Linked DNA regions of Homo sapiens: region 2 is linked to region 1. Evidence: promoter capture Hi-C in 16 types of primary human blood cells and fetal thymus (Javierre and others, 2016). All regions are on one chromosome and are shown on one strand. The core of a region is centred on a gene start or on the middle of the fragment in contact, and the rest is flanking DNA. Distances in the headings are between cores, read along the strand shown. Region 1 holds the start of CUX2 (cut like homeobox 2). Region 2 overlaps CUX2 (cut like homeobox 2).

Evidence for each region. Contacts are between HindIII fragments. The CHiCAGO score rates a contact against its expected background, and 5 or more counts as called.
Region 2: a contact is called between a fragment that was not itself captured here and the fragment with the promoter of CUX2 in region 1, in 1 of 17 cell types (M1 macrophages). The highest score is 5.1, in M1 macrophages.

The regions. Positions count from the first base shown.
Region 1 is chr12:111,032,663-111,036,268 of GRCh38, reverse strand. It overlaps CUX2 (cut like homeobox 2), which reads right to left and starts at 2,104. Exons shown (of 22, transcript NM_015267.4): 1 at 2,029-2,104. The coding sequence starts at 2,091. The HindIII fragment of the contact is 8,699 bases long and covers 1-3,606 here.
Region 2 is chr12:111,195,848-111,199,138 of GRCh38, reverse strand. All of the region lies in intron 1 of CUX2 (cut like homeobox 2), which reads right to left. LOC124903018 (a long non-coding RNA gene) reads right to left here. Exons shown (of 2, transcript XR_007063461.1): 2 at 1-3,291. Among named protein-coding and RNA genes, the nearest start is that of MIR6760, 110 kb to the left of the region's middle. The HindIII fragment of the contact is 4,568 bases long and covers 1-3,291 here.

The DNA.
Region 1 (3,606 bases), core at 855-3,354:
ATTGTGTTAACTGACATTCCGGCCGACCGGGAGCAAATACCAGCGCTGTAAATCTCGCCGCGGAAATTTTCTCCAGCCCAGAATAACAATAGGACCCTGCAAAGGGCTTTCGCCAGCCCTTCTGGTTCCTCTCCTCTTGTGTGCCACGTTCTTGTCATTCCTTATGTTACAGAACATCAATCATAAATAAAGACGCTGTCCCCCAGCCGTGCCCGGGTCTCATTTACAAACATTAGCAGGGAATACGATTACCATTGGCCTTCGTGCCAAGCCCAATGTGGCTGCCCAATTCTCCCTCTCTCTCTCTCTCTCTGCCTCCATAACCCCCACTCTTCCAGAAAGGCCACTTTAGCATCATTTAAGCCGGCAGGCACAGCTCGCAGCCCTGCCCGTCTCAGTTGGCCACCAAACTGTAGCCCCAACTCGAGTGCGGACCCGGAATTGCAAGGCACTCGGCAGTTATTAACTGCATGCCTCAGTGCCCCGATTTTCTCCCCAGCTCAATGGCTTTGGGGGAGGGGGAGAGCGAGGAGTGGGGCGTTCGGAAGGACGGGGACTGGGAAGCGGCCAGGACGGGGAGAAGGCGCGGGTGCTGGAACCACTTATCAGAAGAAACTTAACGAGATTTGCCGGCGGATTAAAAAAAAAAAAAAAAGTGGGTCCCTTTTTATCTCCAGACTGATGATCTCGCGTCTTCCGCGAATGTCACGGTCAAGGCAGGATGCTCTAACCGCCCTGTTATCCGCACCATTTTCCCGCCCCTGATCCCCGCCGCACCCGCCGAGACTTTGCGAGACTCCAAGGCTGGGGGGCCTTGCCAGGCGCGTCCGGGGCACTCCGGGAAAGAACAGAGGCCGGAGCCGCGCCTCCACGGTGCGTTCTCTGAGATTCCACCTCCCAGCCCCGGCTCCTACGGGGTCCGCAGAGAACACCTCCAAATCTAGGGGAGGCACACAGACTCCCACAAAGGGAGGATGGGGAGAAAGTGATGGGGTTTCGAAGAGTCGCCCTAGGGAAGGAGAGAGAAAGAGCAGGGAAGAGAGGAAAGAAACAGAAGAAAAGCAGAGACGGGAGAGAGGAGACGAGGGGAGCAGCGGGGAGAAACGCAGGAGGCAGAACAAGCAAGGAAATCTCTCATTTAAAAGTTCCCTTGGGCCCGAGGGCTGGGAGTCACCTGCTCTGCGCCGCTCCCGGCTCTCCACCGCCCTGGAGGCAGGAGCGCAAACTTGCGAGCGCCCGGGCCCACCTCCACCGCCCGTCTGCATCTAGACTTGGGAAGGGGATGGAAGGGGCGGGGGGGTAAAGGCAAGAAGCAAGACGAACCCCAAGACCCCGGCCCGAGGAGAAGAGGTCTGCCGGCGCTTGCGGCCAGTCCGGCGGCGGCGGCTCTGGCGGCGGCGGCGGCGGCCCCCGGGTGGCGGCGCGTCCGGGCTGCGCAGCCAGGCGGGCGGCGAAGGCTGAGGTGCCGGCGAGCGGCGGGGCGCGGAGCCGCCTCCTCGCCAACCCCGGCTCCCTCCTCCTCTCTCCTCCTCCTCCTCCTCTCCTCCTCCTCCTCCCTGCCCGCCAGCTCCCTCCCTCCCTCGCCGGAGCCCCAGCCGGGTGCGGACTGGCAAGCGGCGCGCTCCGCGGCCTCCCCGGGCGCCGCGAAGTTGGGAGGCGCGCAAAGTGCGGCTCAGGGGGGACCGCCGGGGGTTCCCGCCAGCAGCCCCCTGCCCGAGGCCGTAGCCCCTGCCTTCCCCGCTCCTCGCCCGGCCGCCTGGCCGCTCGGCCGCTCCGCCGACCGAGGGCTCACTAGCGCTTCTCCATGGTCGCGGCAGCTAATCGATGACTGAACCGAACAAAGAGCAGCGGCGAGATCAATTCCTAATACCTATCGATGGGCAGCGGGCGGCCGAGCCCCGGCGAGCCCCGGCAGCCGCCGCCCGCCGCCCCAGGGCGTCCGCCTGCCCGCCCGGGGACCTCCCCAATGCGCCCAGGGCGCGCCCGGGGGCTCCTCACGGCCGCGCGGCCGGCGCTGCCCGCACTAACCTGGAGTCGCCGTAGATCAAATCGCTTCCAATATTGAAACATCGATCCCACATTGGCGGCCATCTTGGGGGCTATCGAGACGCGCACACACAAGAGTTTGGCTTTTCTCAATGGCTGCACTCAATATCCGGGCTGGACTCCCCCCAGCCCCGGGGCCGCCGCCGGCCGCCCGGGCCCTGAGCGCCGCGGCCCGGGGCCCCTCGGGCGCCCTCCGGCCTCCTGCCACCCGCTGCCCCTCGCCGCCGCCGCGCCGCCGCCGCCGCCGCCGCCAACGGGCCCGGGAGCCGTGCGCCCCCCCGACCCCCGGAGGGCGCGGGCGGAGCGCGCCGGGCGGGGAGCTCGGCGCCCGCCCGGGGGAGGCAGCCGGGGATGGGGTGGGAGGGGAGGGGTTGGGGGGAGGCAGCCTCTCCGAGAGGCGCCGGCGCCGCCGCTGCCCTGCCTGCCGCCGGCTCCCGGGCCCGCGGAGCGCTCGCTGCATCTCCCCCCCAAGTCCGGGGTCGGTGTGCCGCGCGATTGCACTTGACTTTGGCTTTTTGCAAACTTATCAATACTGACGTAACGTGCTGATCAATGCAAAGGGAAGTTTGGGAGGGGGCGCTGCGGGAGGCGGGCGCGCGGGGCGCCTACCCCCGCTTGCACCTGTCTACCCCCAGCTCCCGGCATTGCACGCTTAAAAAAAAGTTAATAGTTTGAAATGCATTTTTTTTTCTTTTGCAATCGGAGCACACACAACACGTGCCTCGGGCTGCCGCCGCTCCATCGCCAGATATGCTTGGGATCCGAGGGTCGCAGCCAGCACTTGGGGCTGCGTAGACGCGCCGGCCGGAGGGAGGGTGGGAGCCGCCCGGGGGCGCCACTGAGTCGTGGGAAATGTCACCACCACCGCCCACAGTTTCCGCGCCATTATATTATTATTATTGGCGGGGAGGGGGGCTTCGTCTGAGTAGTAGCTCAGGGTTCTTTACGGGCGGGGGCCGAGGGCGGGGCCTCAGGTCCTTTGGAATAGGGATTTCTGTTGTTATTATCTGGGGGGTCTTTAACCCAATTATAGGGACTCCCCCACAGCTTTGCAAGGTGAAACCCTTTTACTGTGATGATGATTATTGGAGGTTTTGTTATTTGGTTCTGAACCAAACCTCTGGAGGGCCTTTTCCCCCAGTGGGCTTGTTTTATTGTTATGACTGTTGAGGGTGCCCTACCCCTGCTGTGGGGGCTCCGGATCCTTAAAAACCTCGGAGGTTTCTGCTGTTGTTATCATCATTATTATCCGGGGCTCCGTTCTTTGCAACATGACATTCCTTTATTGTGATTGTCTTTGGGGAGAGGGTCTTCAGCATGGCTAGAGGGAGGTTCCGGTCCTTTGCAATTCTTCGGACTCTTGACAACCGGGGTGACTGGATTTCTTGTTTTACATTTTTCTGTCTGCTTTTTTGTTTGTTTGTTTGTTTGTTTGTTTGTTTGTTTTTGCCTCTGTGCAAGCTCGAGGTCCTCTGTTTCCACTTCCCCTGGAGGTGAGATGTCACCTCCAGGGGGAACTCATACTCCCAGCCCCCTCCATCACCAACCCCCTTGCCTATC
Region 2 (3,291 bases), core at 85-2,584, 160 kb before region 1:
CTCCCACTGCCGCCTTTGTCCAAGCTGCTACCCTCCCCTGCCTGGATTATTTCCGAGGCCTCCTCCCTTCTCTCTCCGCACCCACCCTTGCCTGCATTTTCCACATGGTGGATGGAGTGAGTCGCTCAAAACGTGAATCATCTCTTCTCTTTCCTTGGCTTGAAACTTGTCCATGATTTTTGCCATGGTCTTAGATTGAAATCAGACTTCTCACTGGGCCTAGAGGGCCAGGCTACTGCTCACAGCTTCCTATACCTTAGGGGGGCCCCTCTCTGCCCAACTCTATGCACTCCAGCTACACCTGCTGCTCCTGGGCCTCCGATGAGCCAGCCTCTTTCTCACCTCAGGGCATTTGCATGTGCAGTACCTGCAGCCTGCAATCCCTCCCCATCCCCCCCAGTGCTGCCACCTTCTCAGCAGGGCCCTCGCTGGCCCCACTGGCACCCCTGCCTCTAAAGCAGATCCACTTTCTCCTTCCTCCTTTTCCACAGGGCATTCAACATCATTTGCAAAGATAGTTATCTGCATATTTAATATCAGCCTCCTTCCTAGGACTAAAGCTCCGGGAGGGCAGGGACTCTTGTCTGTTTTGTTCACCTCCATAGCTCCAGCATCTAGGCCAGTGCCTGGTCCAAACCCAATAGACACTTTTTTTTTTTTTTTTGAGACAGGGTCTCACTCTGTACCTCAGGTTGGAGTGCAGTGGCACAATCTCGGCTCACTGCAACCTCCGCTTCCCAGGTTCAAGCGATTCTCCCACCTCAGCCTCCTGAGTAGCTAGGATTACAGGTGTTCACCACCACACCCGGCTAATTTTTGTATTACAGTAGAGATGGGGTTTTGCCATGTTAGCCAGGCTGGTCTCAAACTCCCGAACTCAAGTGATCTATCCACCTCGGCCTCCCAAAATGCTGGGCTTACAGGCATGAGCCACCCGCACCTGGCCTTAATAGACAATTTTTAAATGAATATTCACCTCACCAAGTTTCTCTGCCCACGGAATGACAATAATGAGTATGAAAAGATTTTGATAACTAAAGAATATTTCACATAAATAAAACAAAAAAATTATAATTCTGGAAGAATGGAAATATCTCACTTTAGGGTCCAGGGTGGGGAAGGAGAGATCAAGAACAGCAGCAAGAAAGGGAAGAAAGAAGTGAGGGTAGCAGGAAATTCCAGATGAAAGGGATGAAACCACTGGGTTCCCCCAAACAGGCTTGAGTGGGGGCACTGCTGTGGGAAAAGTGAGCACATCCTGATGTTTTAGGGCCTGGGAGAATTACCTGTATGTAAACCCATGCACATTTTGGGGCTGTGTTATTTCACTGTGTGAACCTCTCCTATGGCTCCCTGGTGGTGGGAGGTGGATCTGACCTGGCCAAGCCTCACCCATTCTACCACCCGCCTTGGATGACCTTAGACTGGCCTGAGCCACAGCCACGCTCCAGCTGGATGAAGCCATTTAAGGACAGGGAAGCTGTCTCTGCCTTCACTCAAGACAGGCCGCCACTGGCATTGAACCCAGTGCTATTTTTCAAGTCACATTTCTGAAGGAGGGTGTTGTTTTCTCCAGGAACCCTCAAGATGCCTACACGCTGCTTGCCAACAAGCCAGTAGCATGTACGCATTTATTCATTCAACAAACATGTAAGGAGCATCCCCTCTGTGCCAGGCACTGTTCCAGGCACTGGGGATCCAACAGTGGCCACCGCAAAGTCCCTGCCTGTGTGATGCTGACAGTCTAACATCCCAGCTTTCACGGATGAGGATGGGATTCTGGGCTGACATGGCATTGATCCAGTCCTGGGGGCCAGGCAGAATAGTACCAACAATAAAGATAACAATAACAGAAGCTGATCCTTTCCCACACTGACTAAGTGGTAGGCACTGAGCTAGGGGATTTAGAGGAATTATTCTCTGAGCCTCACAGCAGTCCTTCGAGAGAGATATTAGTACTTCCATTTTGCAGATGAGAAAACTGAGGCTAGGAGGGAATAGGTCAGTTGCCCCAGGTCTCAGGCTTGGGAAGCAACAGGGCTAGGATTTGCACCTGGGTCCTCCTAGCTCCAGAGCCCGTCCACTCTCTTTTAGTGCCTCTACAAGATGCCCCAATTTAAATCCCCTCTTCTCTGAGTCACTGAGCACCATCTAGACACAATATTCCTGTACATGCAGCCCCTAGTCCCTGAGCCCCACGCCTATTCCAGCTATGTATGATTAAAAGGTTTGAACTCTGCTCAATCCTCTGAAAGATTCAAGGACCCAGAACATACTGAGTGGTGATCCTGAACTTCTAGAACTGCACTGTCCAATACAGCAGCCACTAGCCTCCTGTAGTTATTTAAATTTAGTACTTCTACGTTAATTTAAATGAAATGCAATCACAAATTCAGTTCCTCGGTTGCACAAGCCATAGTCATGTGCTCAGTAACCACAACGGGTAGTGGCTACCGTACAGGATGGTTCAGATATATATCATCTACATGTTCTATGGGACAGTGCTGTTTTAGAACACCTGAGGATGTGCGATTTTGTTGTATGCCCCCCACCTGCCATTCATTTCTTCAAGCTCCAGTGGCTCCCAGAATTCCCAGCCCAAATTCTCATTGAAACCAGGGACCAAAAATGCAACCTCAAATATCAACAAAGACAATACTAAGCCCAGATACTGCTGGTGGGAATGCAACATGGTACAGCCACTTCAGAAAAACAGTTTGGCAGTTTCTTAATAAGTTAGACATAAATGTATCTTATGACCCAGCAATTCCACTCCTCTACCCAAGAGAATCGAAAACATGTGTTCAAAGATCTGCGTGCAAACTTTCACAGCAGTGCTATTCACAACAGCCAAAAAGTACAAACAACCCACATGCCCATCAACCGATGAACGGATAAAACGTGGTCTATCCATACAATGGAATATTATTTAGCAATCAAGAGAACAAAATACTCATACATGTTACCACATGGGCAAACCTTGGAAACATTATACCTAATGTAAGAAGCTGATACAAAGACCACAGATTGTATAATCCCATTTGTACGAAACGACCAGAAAAGGCAAATCTATGGATACAGCAAATAGATTTGTGGTTTCCTGGGGCTGGGAGTGGGATCAGACAGTGACTGGAAAAGGACCCAAAAGATCTTTTTTGGGGTGACAGAAATGTTTTAAAACTGGATGTGGTGATGGTTGTACAACTCCATAAATATACTAAATCGATTGTGTTGTACATGTATAATAGGTGAATTTCATGGCATATCAATTATATCTCAATAAAGCTGCTG